Regions from separate parts of the Homo sapiens genome. Here region 2 is linked to region 1. The links are contacts of gene promoters, found by promoter capture Hi-C in human tissues and cell types (Jung and others, 2019). All regions are on one chromosome and are shown on one strand. Each heading gives the region's core, a stretch centred on a gene start or on the middle of the fragment in contact. The rest is flanking DNA. Distances are from core to core; before and after follow the strand shown.

What was found. Contacts are between HindIII fragments. The study calls those that stand out against the background at their distance.
Region 2: a fragment that was not itself captured here is called in contact with the fragment with the promoter of PLAUR in region 1 in 2 of the 25 tissues and cell types used here (dorsolateral prefrontal cortex and hippocampus).

What each region holds. Positions count from the first base shown.
Region 1 is chr19:43,668,593-43,675,679 of GRCh38, forward strand. It overlaps PLAUR (plasminogen activator, urokinase receptor), which reads right to left and starts at 1,577. Exons shown (of 7, transcript NM_002659.4): 1 at 1,474-1,577. The coding sequence starts at 1,528. It overlaps LOC124904724 (a long non-coding RNA gene), which reads left to right and starts at 172. Exons shown (of 3, transcript XR_007067264.1): 1 at 172-591; 2 at 1,434-1,888. RefSeq lists silencers at 76-305, 346-425 and enhancers at 1,346-1,645, 6,842-6,941. The HindIII fragment of the contact is 20,050 bases long and covers 1-7,087 here.
Region 2 is chr19:42,428,835-42,435,921 of GRCh38, forward strand. It overlaps CXCL17 (C-X-C motif chemokine ligand 17), which reads right to left. Exons shown (of 4, transcript NM_198477.3): 2 at 4,942-5,022; 3 at 4,142-4,243; 4 at 1-147. The coding sequence ends at 50. All of the region lies in intron 1 of LIPE-AS1 (LIPE antisense RNA 1), which reads left to right. Among named protein-coding and RNA genes, the nearest start is that of LIPE, 5.0 kb to the left of the region's middle. The HindIII fragment of the contact is 4,621 bases long and covers 2,354-6,974 here.

The DNA.
Region 1 (7,087 bases), core at 327-2,826:
TCGTAACCCCCGCCCCTTGGCCCCTTGAGGTCCTAGCCCAGCCCCGTAGCTCCTCCCCAAGCTTATAACCCCGCCCCTAGCCCCTCCTTGAGGTTCCAGCCCCGCCCTCTAGCTCCTCCCCGAGGTTATAATCCTGCCCCTCAAGAGTCTAGTCCCACCTTCTAGCTCCTCCCGAGGTTATAACTCCGCCCTCTGGTTACGCCTCGAGGTTATAACCCCGCCCTCTGGCTCCGCCTCGAGGTTCTAGCCCCGCTCCTAGCTCTTCCTCGGTCTGTAACCTCTCCCGTAGCTCTTCCTTGAGGTTCCAGCCCCGCCCTCTGGCTCCTCCCCGACACTCTCTCCCCGCCCCAGGCTCCGCCCCGAGATTGCAGCCCAGTCCCTAGGCCCGGTCCCCGACCTCCGGGCCTTCCCGGACATCCCTTTCCAGCTGCGCGTTCGGAGTATCCCGGAGCTGTTACTCATTCCCGGCCTCCCGCGGTCTCGAGCGCTTTCCGGGTTATTCATCGCGGCCCCAACACCCTGTGGCCACCCGCCCTGACTCAGTTCCTTCTCGAATTCCTCGACCCAGAGCCCCCCACATTTTCCGGGGAAGTAAGTGAGAGTCGCCTCAGTGAGAGGGAAAGGTCCTGAGGGACAGTCCCGGGTCTCCAGCACTGGCTCTGCGCCGCTCAGTCAGCCTCCCTTTGGGCCTTTTGTAAAAGGGGGTCCTGTCCCCCCGTTTCTCAGAGGGGGAGACCCAGCAGCGTGGAGAGCGCTGGGGGGCGCTGCAGGGTCAGATCCTGCGTATTCAAGCACTGGCTGTGTGATTTTAGGCCAGTTATCTAACCTCTCTGTGCCCTAGTTTCCTCTGCGAAACGAAATTAATAAAGTCCCATCGCCTAGTTTGAAATTGCAAGGAAGAGGCTTCGAAGAACTCCATTTAAAAAAAGAACACTTGGGCCGGGCGCGGTGGCTCACGCCTGTAATCCCAGCAGTTTGGGAGGCCGAGGCAGGTGGATCATCTGAGGTCAGGAGATTGAGACCATCCTGGCTAACAGAGTGAAACCCGGTCTCCACTAAAAATACAGAAATTAGCCGGGCGCGATGGCAGGCGCCTGTAATCCCAGCTACCCAGGAGGCTGAGGCAGGAGAATCGCTTGAACCCGGGCGGCAGAGGTTGCAGTGAGCCGAGATCGCGCCACTGCACTCCAGCCTGGGCGACAGAGTGAGACTCTGTCAAAAAAAAAAAAAAAAAAAAAAAAGCACTCACTAAATTATGTAAAGCTAAATGCCTTTGCTCCACTAATATTTCCTTAGCTACTGAGTGCCAGGTACTGCGCCGCGTGGCGTTGCACAAAGCACGAGAATTACTATTATTTGATTAGGGAGGATGCTGAGGACTGAACCGCATTCCTCCAACTCATCCTCTGACAACCCCCAACCCCCTCAATTAGACCCTGTTCCAGGCGCAGGCGTTCGGGACCCAGCCCCTACCTGGGACGCAGGTGTGGAGCAGCAGCAGCAGCGGCAGCAGCGGCGGGTGACCCATGTCGCGAGGGCAGCTCCTGTGCGCGGGGTCCCTGCACGTCTTCTCTCCTTCTGGCCTCAGGAAGGAGGCAGTTTTGTGGCCCCAGGGACTCCTCCCAGACGTTTTGCGAAAGAGCGAGTCAGCCCCAGATGCGTGGGCGCCTCCCCCTCCTCCCGTACGAACCTCCTCCGCCACAAACTTCCCTTCCCGGGGCGCGGCCGGCTGGTGGTGAAGGGGCTGGCTCGGCCCTGACTCATGGAGTTGTGATCACAGCTCTGTCCCCAGATTGCCTGGGTGCAAATCCCAGTTCTCTCTCTTCCTAACGTGGGACCCGGGGCAATCGCTCTCCACTGCTGTAAAATGAGGATAAAAACTTTGACGGTAAATATGAATGTGGCTGATTATTTGGCTAACAGGATTTTTGTTAGTTTTGTCAGGAGGGATACTGGTATTTTGGAAAATGTCCTTATCTAGAGATGCATCCTGAAATATGCATCTCTTAAACACTTAAAACACTTAACCCTTGCTTTGCTTCCCGCTGTGCCCCCAGCTCCTGGACCAGTGCCCAGCACGAAGTAGGTCCTTGGTAAATGTTAAAGGAATGTGTTGAGCCCTCCATTTTGGCCAGCAGCTATTCCAGGCATTGCACCTACATTAAAACACTTAATGGTGAAACCCCGTCTCTACTAAAAATACAAAAATTAGCCGGGCGTAGTGGCGTGTGTGTGTTACTTAGGAGGCTGAGGCAGGAGAATCGCTTGAACCCGGGAGGCGGAGGTTGGGTTGCAGTGAGCCGAGATCGTGCCACTGCACTCCAGCCTGGCAACAGAACAAGACTCCTTCTCACAGAAAAAAAAAAAAAAAAAAAAAAAGACACTTCAGCCAAAAAAGTAGATATCACTGTTACGACAATGGCTGTATGCTTAGGTGGGATTCTGGTTTTTGTTTGTTTGTTTGTTTTTGCAGATGCTTACTAGAGTATTTAGTGGTGAATGTTATTGATGTCTGCATTTTTTGTTGTTGTTGTTTTGGGGATTTTTGTTTTGTTTTTTCTTTTTCTTTTGTTTTCATTTTGATGTCTGTATTTATTTTATAATATTTTAGAAGAGGTCAGATGAGGTGGCTCATGCCTGTAACACCAATGCTTTGGGAAGCCAAGGCAGGAGGATCACTTGGGGCCAGGAGTTCAAGATCAGCTTGGGAAACATAAAGAGCCCTCATCTTTCCAAAAGAAATTAAAAATAAAATAAAATTAGCTGGGTGCAGTGGCCCGTACTTGTAGTCCTAGGTAGTTGGGAGGCTAAGGTGGGAGGACCGCTTGAACCTGGGAACTGGAAGCTGCAGTGAGCTATGATTGCACCACTGCACTCCAACCTGGGCAACAGAGCGAGACCCTGTCTCAAAAAAATAATAAATAAATAAATACTTGAGTAGAAAATAAAGGCAAAATAGCCAAATGGTTGTATCAATTATATAAAGGTAATCAGTATATAAGGGCATATTATGCCATTCTGTCTCCTTTTCTGTGGGTTTGAAAAGGCTTATAATAAGTTTTTTCTTTCTTTTTATTATTTATTTATTTATTTATTGAGACGAAGTCTCACTCTGTCACCCAGGCTAGAGTGCAGTGGTGCAATCTCGGCCACTGCAATCTCCGCCTCCTGGGTTCATGCAATTCTCCTGCCTCAGCCTCCTGAGTAACTGGGATTACAGGGGCACGCCAGCACACCCGGCTAATTTTTGTATTTTTAGTAGAGATGGGGTTTCACCATGTTGGTCAGGGTGGTCTCGAACTCCTGACCTCAGGTGATCCACCTGCCTTGTCCTTCCAAAGTGCTGGGATTACAGGCATGAGCCACTGCACCTGGCCAAGTTTTTTTTTTTTTTAAGTAAAATAAAATACTAAAGATAAAATTGTCTCCCCGTCTTAGGATGCATCTAACTAAACAGAGCAATTTAATGTAGGTGCAATGCCTGGAATAGCTGCTGGCCGAAATGGAGGGCTCAACACATTCCTTTAACATCTACCAAGGACCTACTTTGTGCTGGGCACTGGTCCAGGAGCTAGGGGCACAGCAGGACGCAAAGCAAAGTTCCCACCTTTTGTTGTGTTGACAGTGGGGAGCAGATATGTGTTATCTAATCTTTCACTGTCTGAGAGGGATAAGCAAACTGGAGAAAACAAAGCAGGCTGAAGGAAGTATCTGGGTGCAAATGAGGTGTGAGCTGTTTTAGGTGGGTGATCCAGGAGGGGTTCCCTGAGCAAGTGGCATTCAAGCAGAGGCTGAATGCAGTGAGGGAAGAAGTAGGGCAGATGGGCAGGGAACCTTTCCAAGGAGCAGGAACAACCAGTGCAAAGGCCTTGAGGTGGAAGCCTGATGAGATTCTAGGAACAGAAGAGATGTCAGTGTGGCTGGAACAGATTAGGAGAGGAAGAGAGTCGTAGGGGATGAGTAAGTGGTAGCTACTTCTACTGCTGTAATAATGATTATACTATGTGATTTGTTGTCGTTGTTGTTGTTGTTTTTGAGACAGAGTCTCACTTTGTCTCCCAGGCTGGATGCAATGGCGTGGTCTCGGCTCACTGCAACTTCCACCTCCCAGGTTCAAGGGATTCTCATGCATGCCTGGCTATTTTTTTTTTTTTTTTGAGTCGGAGTTTCTTTCTTGTTACCCAGGCTGGAGTGCAATGGCACGGTCTCGGCTCACTGCAACTTCTGCCTCCCAGGTTCAAGAGGTTCTCCTGCCTCAGCCTCCTGAGTAGCTGAGATTACAGGCATTCTCCACCATGCCTGGCGAATTTTTTGCATTTTTAGTAGAGATGGGGTTTCACCATGCTGGCCAGACTGGTCTTGAACTCCTGACTTCAGGTGATCCACCCGCCTCAGCCTCCCAAAATGCTGGGATTACAGGCTTGAACCACTGCGCCCAGCCCTAATTTTTGTATTCTTAGTAGAGATGGGGTTTCGCCATGTCGGCTAGGCTGGTCTCGAACTCCTGACTTCAGATGATCAACCTGCCTCAGCCTCCCAAAGTGCTGGGATTACAGGGGTGAGCCACCGCACCCGGCCCTAATTTTTGTATTGTTAGTAGAGATGGGGTTTCACCATGTCTGCCAGGCTGGTCTCTAACTCCTGACTACAGGTGATCCACCCACCTTGGCCTCCCAAATTGCTGAAATTACAGACATGAGCTACCGCTTCCAGCCTGTACTATGTGATTCTTACTAACTCATTGAAGCTGTAAGCTAATGATTTTAAGATAAGGTTAGAAAACAAAAAACAAAAAAACTCCCAATGGTGAGCACAGTGGTTCATGCCTATAATCTCAGCACTTTGGGAGGCGAAGGCTGGAGGATTGCTTGAGCTCAGGGGTTCGAGACCACCCTGGGCAACATAGTAAGACCTTGTATCTATAAAAAAATAAAATTACAGCCTGGACAACATAGCGAGACCTTGTCTCTATGAAAAATAGAAAAATTAGCCAGGTGTCGTGGTGCACACTTGTGGTCTCAGCTACTCTCTGGTTGAGGTGGGAGGATCACTTGAGCCCCAGGGGTTTGAGGCTGCAGTGAGCCAAAATCGAGCTACTGAACTCGAGCCTGGGCAACAAAAGTGAGACTGAAAAAAAAAAAAAAAAGAACTCCCAGAGAATTTCCTAAGAGGTAGTATAGCCCAATGGTTAAGAGTGTGGGAGCTGGTCTCAGATTGTGAAAATCTAAATTGCATCTACATATTGGCTGTGTCACCTCTAGCAGGTTACTTAATCTATCTCTGTGCCCAAGCCCCTTATCTGGAAAGTAGAGATAGCAAGTATCACCCTCCCAGGGCTGGTGTACTGCGGAGGTAAAAGAATCCACCTAAAATGACTGAGCATGGTGGCTCATGTCTATAATACCAGTGCTTTGGGAGACCAAGGCAGGTGGATCACTTGAGGTCAGGAGTTCAAGACCAGCCTGGCCACCATGGCAAAACCCTGTCTCTACTAAAAAATACAAAAAAATTAGCTAGGTGTGGTGGCATGCACCTGTAGTCCCAGCTACGCAGGAGGCTGAGGCACGAGAATTGCTTGAACCTGGGAGGCAGAGATTGCAGTGAGCCGAGATCGCACCACTCCACTCCAGCCTGTGCGACAGAGCTAGACTCCATCTAAAACAAACAAACAAACAAACAAAAAGAAGAATGCTCCTAAGATGCTTGCCACAGTGCCTGGTACATAGTATGTGCTCAATAAAAGCGATAGCTGCCAGTATTATCATTGTTGCAACTCTGGACATTCACCTCTTCCTGGAGTAGGAAGGGAGATGGAGGCCTGTCATTGAGTCTGACGTCAACAGTTATCACGCGTCAGCTGCTGAAGTGGGCACTTCCCTGGCTGGGTCACCCTGGGCCAATGACATTCTTCTTTCTGAGCCTCAGTTTTCTCAGCTGGAGAAGGGGATCCCTCTTGGGCTGGTGTGAAAACTAAACTAGATCGGAATGTACATGAGGTGGGGAAATAGACAGTTGGGGTGTTGGTCCAAGCAGGCTTGAGACCCAGCTCAGCCACTTGCTTCTGGGTGACCCTGGGCAGATGGCTTCACTCCATCAATCCCCGGCTTTGCCACCTATGAAATGGGTCTGGGGTGGGTAGGGGGCATCTCTCAGTGAAGAGAAAACTCAGGTTTGAGGGTCATGCGGAGCTGTGTGCTGTGCTGCTACCACTTCCTGGTGGGATGACCTCACTTCTCTAAGCCACAATTTCCCAATTTCCCTTTTTTTTTTTTTTTTTTTTTTTTTGAGACAGAGGCATGATCATAGCTCACTGCTGCCTTGAACTCCTGGGCTCAAGCGAAACTCCCACTTCAGCCTCCTGAGTAGTTGGGACCTAGGGGTGTGCACCACCATGCCTGGCTATTTTCTCATATTTCGTGTTTTTTGTAGAGATGGAGCCTTGGTCTGTTCCCCAGGCTGGTCTTGAACTGCTGGGTTCGAGTGATCCTCCCGCCTTGGCCTCCCAAAGTGGTGGGATTACAGGTGTGAGCCACTATGCTCAGCCAATTTCCTCTTTAACGAATGAGAGGTATTTCAGAGCCCACTCATCCCTGCCCAAGGCTGCCCTCGCCTCCTGAAATTTCTGTCTCTCCCTGTGTCTTTGTCTTTTTCTATCTCTCTGTTTTGTTGTTTTCTTTGTCTCTGTCCCTCTTTCTCTCTCTCAATGCCTATCTCTCTCTCTCTCCAACTCTATCACTTTCTCTCTCTGTACCTCGATCTCTGTATCTGTTTGTCTCTCTCTTCATGTCTTTTTATCTCTGCTTCTCCCTTTTCTCTGTCTCTCCCCATGGCTCTCTTTCTCTTTCTGTGTCATTGTTTCTGTTTCTCTTTCTGATTCTTTCTCTCTGTCTCTCCCTCAAGTGACACACACACACACCTGTAAGGTTCTGCTGACGTGTAAAGGGAAGGGAAATGCAGGGATCAGGACCTGGACACTCTCCAGAAACACGGCAGGGATGTCGGCTCCTTCCTCCTCGTGACTCACCTGGGCCTCACCCAGCTCTTGCCTGCCTGCGGGATCATGGGTGAGGCCCATGGGTTTCGGGGG
Region 2 (7,087 bases), core at 3,414-5,913, 1.2 Mb before region 1:
GTCTTCTTGGCTGAGAATGTTTAATTGGAAGAGTGGGCGCTCAGAGCTCCTACAAAGGCAGAGCAAAGCTTCTTAGCTGACATTGTTTGAGAAATTGCTGGCAGGCTCTGGAATGCTTGTTTGGCTTTCTGTGGTGCCTTTGGTGTCCTAGGGTGCAAATAAAGGGGAGAGGCTAGTGTTAAAACCATTTTTAACATTTCTTTTTTTTTTGGAGACGGAGTCTTGCTCTATTGCCCAGGCTGGAGTGCAGTGGCAGGATCTCAACTCACTGCAACCTCTGCCTCCCGGGTTCAAGTGATTCTCCTGCCTCAGCCTCCCAAGTAGCTGGGATTACAGGTGCCTGCCACCATGGCTGGCTAATTTTTGTATTTTAGTAGAGACAGGGTTTCACCATTTTGGCCAGGCTGGTCTGGAACTCCTGACGTCATGTGATCCACCCACCTCGGCCTCCCAAAGTGCTAGGATTACAGGCATGAGCCACCATGCCTGGCCTTCACATTTAATTTTTTTTTGAGATGGAGTCTCGTTCAGTTGCCCAGGCTGGAGTGCAGTGGTGCAATCTTGGCTCACTGCAACCACTGTCTCCCAGATTCAAGCGATTCTCCTGTCTCAGCCTCTCGAGTAGCTGGGATTACAGGCACCCACCATCATGCCTGGCTAATTTTTGTATTTTAGTAGAGATGGGGTTTCACCATGTTGGCCAGGCTGGTCTTGAACTCCTGACCTCAGGTGATCCACCCGCTTTTGCCTCCCAAAATGCTAGGATTACAGGTGTGAGCCACTGTGCCCAGCCAACATTTAATTTTTATGAGAGTTTTAAAAATTATAAAAATAAGACTCATCCAGTGGAAAAAAATTTTAAAATCCAGTAAAAAGTAAAAGGACTCCTCCCACCCCAGCCTCTACAACACATTTTCCAGGGCTAACCACTGTTAATAGTTTGCTACGTATTTTTCCATACCTTCTGGTATATAAATACAATGGTTTATTTTAAAAACAAAAATGAGATTATACTATACGTATTGCCTTAGTCGGCACCTTTAAGAAATCTGGCCGGGCATAGTGGCTTGTGCCTATAATCTCAGCACTTTGGGAGGCCGAGGTGGGCAGATTGCCTGAGCCCAGGAGTTAAAGACCAGCCTGAGCAACATGGCGAAATCCTATCTCTACAAAAATACAAAAATTAGCCAGGCATGGTGGCGTGTACCTGTGGTTCCAGTTGCTGGGGAGGCTGAGGCAGGAGGAATGTTTCAGCCCAGGAGGTGAGCCGTGATCATGCCACTGCACTCCAGCCTGGGTGACAGAGCAAGACCTTGTCTCAACTGCGCCCCTCCCTCTGCAAAAAAAACAACTGAATCTATTATTGCAAAGTATTATATATCTATAGAAGTTCATAGAAACCTATACATGCAATTCAATAAATAGTTATAAAGCAGATATTCATGAAACTACTACCTAGGCTTAGAAATAGAATATTGTGTCCGGGCACGGTGGCTCATGCCTGTAATCCCTGCACTTTGGGAGCCCGAGGCAGGCAGATCACCTGAGGTCAGGGGTTCGAGACCAGCCTGACCAACATGGAGAAATCCATCTCTACTAAAAATACAAAATTAGCTGGGTGTGGTGGCGCATCCCTGTAATCCCAGCTCCTCAGGAGGCTGAGGCAGGAGAATTGCTTCAACCCGGGAGGCGGAGGTTGCAGTGAGCCGAGATTGCGCTATTGCACTCCAGCCTGGGCAACAAGAGCAGAACTCCATCTCAAAAAAAAAAAAAAAAGAAAGAAAGAAAGAAATAGAATATTGCCAACAGCACCCCTCCTTTTCTGATCACTGCTTTCTCTCCCCCTCACAGTGATAATCTTGACTTTTATAGTAATTATTTACTTTCTTTTCTTTATTATTTACCACCTATGTGTATAGATTCCTAAATAATTTAGTTTATTTTTTCTCATTTTTAAACTTTATGTATATATTATGGTCTGAATGTTTATGTCTCTCCCCATTTTTTTTGTTTTTGTTTTTGAGATGGAGTCTCACTCTGTTGTCCAGGCTGGAGTGCAGTGGCGTGATCTTGGCTCACTGCAACCTCTGCCTCCCGGGTTCAAATAATTCTCCTGTCTCAGCCTCCTAAGTAGCTGGGATTACAGATGTGCACCATCACGCCCGGCTAATTTTTTTGTATTTTAAGTAGAGACGGGGTTTCACCATGTTGGCCAGGCTGGTCTCGAACTCCTGACCTCAGGTGATCCCCCTGCCTTGGCCTCCCAAAGTGCTGGGATTACAGGCATGAACCACTGCACCTGGCCTCACTTTAGTTTTAATTCACATTTTCCTTGTAATAATAAGGTTGAGTGCCATTGCATCTGTTTATTAGCTGTTTGGGTTTCATCATCTGTGAAGTGGCTATTCAAGTATTTTTGCCCGTTTGTCTGTTGTATTTCCTGCCCTCCTCTCACTGGTCTGTAGCAATTCCTTATATATGTATTCTGAATACTAATCCTTTGAAGGTTGTGTATGTTACAGATATCGTCTCCTATTTGGCAGCTTGTCATTTTATTCTTTTGATGATCAAAATTTCATAATCTCAGTGAAGTCAGATTTATTTACTCTTTTACTTTATGGTTTGTGCATTTTGTATTTTGTTTAAGAAAGGCTTTCATACCTCAAGGTTGTGAATATATTCTCCTGTATTTCCTTGTAAATTTGTCTTTCAAATTTAGATCTGTAATCCACCTGAAACTTACGTTAATGAAGGATGTGAAATAGGGGGTCTCTACATCATTTTTTTTTCATTAATATATTGTGGATATCTCTCCAGCCAACACATAATGATTTATCTCATTATTATTATTATTATTTTTATTATTATTGTTATTATTATATTTATTTTAGAGACAGGATCTTGCTATGTTGCCCAGGCTGGTCTTGAGCTCCTTGGCTTACTGGATCCTCCTGCCTCAGCCTCCTGAGTAGCTAGGATTATAGGCCTGAGCCACTGCCCCTGGTTTACTTAATTATTTTTGACAGTAATTAGTTTTTCCCAATTTGCCTTTGAAGAAAATTTCCCCCATTTATTTGTCAATACAAATACTGCTATAATTAATATTCTTGTACCTATATTTTGAGCATCCATGCTAGTATTCCATTGTTGAGATTTCCTAAAGTAAGATTACTAAAGTTATTATACTCATTTACAATTTTGATACAGCCAAATTTATTTTACTTCCGTCAATAGTGTATAAGGATCCTGATATATCCCATTCTTGATAATATCATAATATCAATCAGTTTAACATTTGCCAATTTAGTTTTTTTTTTTTTTTTTTTTTGAGGCAGAGTCTCACTCTGTCGCCCAGGCTGGAGTGCAGTGGCATGATCTCAACTCTCTGCAACCTCCACCTCCCGGATTAAAGCAATTCGCGTGCCTCAACCTCCCGAGTAGCTGGGATTACAGGCATGCACCACTATGCCCCGCTAATTTTTGTATTTTTAGTAGAGACGGGGTTTCACCATGTTGGCCAGGCTGGTCTTGAACTCCTGGCCTCAAGCAATCCGCCTGCCTCGGCCTCCCAAAGTACTGGGATTACAGGCATGAGCCACTGTGCCCGGCTGCCAATTTACTTTTTATATGACACTTAAAAACTGGTAGACTAAACTGGGTGTGGTGGTGTGTACCTCTAACCCCAGATCCTTGGGAGGCTGTGGTGGAAGGATCACTTGAGCCCAGGAGTTTGAGACCAACCTGGGCAACATGGCAAGACCCCCTACTCAAAAAACAGAACAAAATAACAAACACAAAACTGCTAGACTAGGGAGGAGTCAAATTCTGTTTGATGCTGACACTGGTGTAATCTTCAGAGATTAATGACCAGATCTCCAACAGCCCCATCTACCCCCACTTTGGTAAACAGTGAGGTTTTAAAATCTAAGAATTTGGTTAAACCTTTCCAGTATCAGGAAAATTGTATCCTGCTTTTCCTCTCTTCCTATTTCCCGACAAGGTGACATTGAGTAGAAAGGGCTGAGTTGTGTGCTTATCCTGGTCTTAATTTCACCTCTTTTTTCTATTCTCAACGTGCTTCTTCCCTAGTGATTTCACGGAGTGACTCTGGTATAAGGAAAATCATCCTTTGGAAACTTACTTGTTTTCTTCACATTGCCCTTGAAATGATCACAGGGGCACTGCTTCTTTGGCAGCCCAGACACTGTCATGAATTTTCTTCTCGGGGCTCTCAGGAACCAATCTGGAACAACAGCATTGCTGCTTAGATGGGAGAGTTAATACATTTGATAGGAGGGAGTAGGACAGAGCTTTAATCGCCATCTTCTGTGCCTTGCATTTCCACTGCAATGGGGTGGGAAAAGGGGTCAACAGAGAACAGTGTCCATCCAGCTATTTGAATGCCAGTATTTCTGAGTTGTTTTTCCTGACAACTTTGGGCAAGGTTTGGGCAAGGGTTTGGGCAAGGGTTTGGTGGCAGGTTTGGAGGGTGCATCAGAATATCATTACTCCAAAGAATGAGGAGTAAGGCTTGGGTGTCTGCTTTTCAGTGGCTACTTTCCCTTGGGGAAGCCATTTTGCCTCTCTGCTTTCAGTCTTGCCTGTGAGTAAAATAAGGCTGAGAATAGGATTCAGGAAGCTTTTGGAAGGCCAGGAAAAAATAAAAAGGCTTTTGGACGGTAGCTCTGGGTTCTTCAGGAAAAGGATAAGGGGCAGGGCGCAGCCTGACATTTGGCTGGCTTTCCCCTAGACCTTGGAGAAGTCCAGTTCTTGCCTGAGAGTCAGGAAGAAAGTGGGCACAGGTGCTGCATGTGGCAGGCTGTGGAGAGGGGAATGGGTGAGGTCAGCTGAGATAACATCTGCATTGGTCTCAGAGGGGCCCAAGGGAGAGAGCTGGGGTCATGGTGATGCCATCGCTGTTGTTGTTGCTGAATTACTGACCTTTGCACTCACATTCTTGGCCGCCTTCCTGGAGCCATCTCCTAGAAGCCTGGCCTCGGTCCCTGTGGCCTCTGGCGACCCCTGTCGGAAGGAAACAGGTCACATCCAGACACTGGAAAGGGCACAGAAATGATCCTCCCAGCATTGTTCTACCTAGGTCAGCACAGTTCCATTTTTCCATTTTTACTTCAAGAATCTAGGTTACTTCAAGAGATGAATATTTTATTTTTATTTATATTTTTGAGATGGGGTCTTGCTGTGTTGCCTAGGCTGGTCTTGAACTCTTGGGCTCCAGTGGTCCTCCTGCCTTGGCCTCCCAAAGTGCTAGGATTATAGGCGTGAGCCACTGTGCCCAGCTGAGGGGTATTTTAATCGATAAGGGATTGAGGTTTAAAATCTGGCCTATACATAAGCATATTCAAAAATTTAATGATTAAAAAAATCTGGCCTAGAGAAAAGCTTAGCTGAAGGTAGGTGGAGAAAGAATGGCTTCTAGATGGAAGAGATGATAAAAGGCAGGGGTTTGTCGAAACCTCCTGCCCTCTCCTCATACCTCACATTAAAATCCTCATGACTTAAAAGAGTGAGAGCGAGGAGGAGATTATTCCTTAAATCAAGATTTTCCCTTGACCTCCAAGTTGCTGGGTTTTTTGTTTGTTTGTTTGTTTTTTGAGACAGAGTCTCACTCTGTCATCCAGGCTGGAGTGTAGTGGTGCAATCACGGCTCACTGCAGCCTTGACCTCCTGGGTTTGGTTGGTCCTCCCATCTCAGCCTCCTGGGTAGCTGAGGCTTCAGGCATGCACCACCACTCCTGGCTAGTTTTTTGTATTTTTTGTAAAGATAGGGTTTTGCCAAGTTGCCCAGGTTGGTCTGGAGCTCATGGGCGTAAGCGATCCGCCTGTCTTGGCCTCCCAAAGTGCTGTGATTATAGGCATGAGCCACCACACCCACCCCAAGTAGCTGTATTTGAATCCAGAGTCCCAGTTCAACTATTAAACGATGGTATTTACCTTTGTTCCTCTGGAACAAATACATTCTTCTTTTGGCCTTTATCCGAGCCTGTTTTATTTTCCGATTCTATCTTATCTCCATTTTTTGATACTTAAAATATTCCTATGACAGGCTGGGCACGGTGGCTCATGCCTGGAATCCCAGCACTTTGGGAGGCTGAGGCAGGCGGATCATGAGGTCAGGAGGTCAAGACCATCCTGGCTAACATGGTGAAACCCCGTCTCTACTAAAAATACAAAAAATTAGGCGGGCGTGGTGGCGGGCGCCTGTAGTCCCAGCTACTCGGGAGGCTGAGGCAGGAGAATCTCTTGACCCCAGGAGGCGGAAGTTGCAGTGAGCTGAGATCGTACCATTGTACTCCATCCTGGGCGACAGAGCGAGACACGGTCTCAAAAAAAAAAAAAAAATTCCTAAGACAATCAAGAATGATGGTTTATAGACTTGAGATTCTCAAGTAAGAGCTTGGCTCAGATGACACTTCCTTTATGGTAGTTTCTGATATTTCCTGTCAACATGAATTATACCTTCATATGGTTCCCATTGTTGTTGAATGCAGTTCTGTTATTGCACTGTAATGTTGTTGTTTGAAATCTTTTATGGACTGAATTGTGTCTCCCGAAATTCACATGTTGAATCCATAACCCCCAGTACCTCAGAATGACTGTATATGGAGATAGGACCTTTAAAGAGGTGATTAAAATCAGGCTGTTATGGTGGGCCCTACACCAGTCTGCCTGGTGTCCTTATAAGAAAAGGAGATTTGGGCTGGGCGCGGTGGCTCATGCCTATAATCTCAGCAATTTGGGAGGCCGAGGTGGGTGAATCACAGGTCAGGAGTTTGAGACCAGCCTGGCCAACATAGTGAAACCCTGTCTTTACTAAAAATACAAAAATGAGCAGGGCATGGTGGCGCGTGCCTGTAGTCCCAGCTACTTGGAAGGCTGAGGCAGGAGAATTGCTTGAACCCGGGAGGCAAAGGTTGCAGTGAGCTGAGATCATACCATTGCACTCCAGCATGGGCAACAAAGCAAGACTTTGTCTAAAAAAAAAAAAAAAAAGTAGGGGGGATCCTAGAGAGCTCTTTCATTCTCTTTCCACCTCTTGAAGATAAGAGGAGAAGTCCACTGTCTGCAA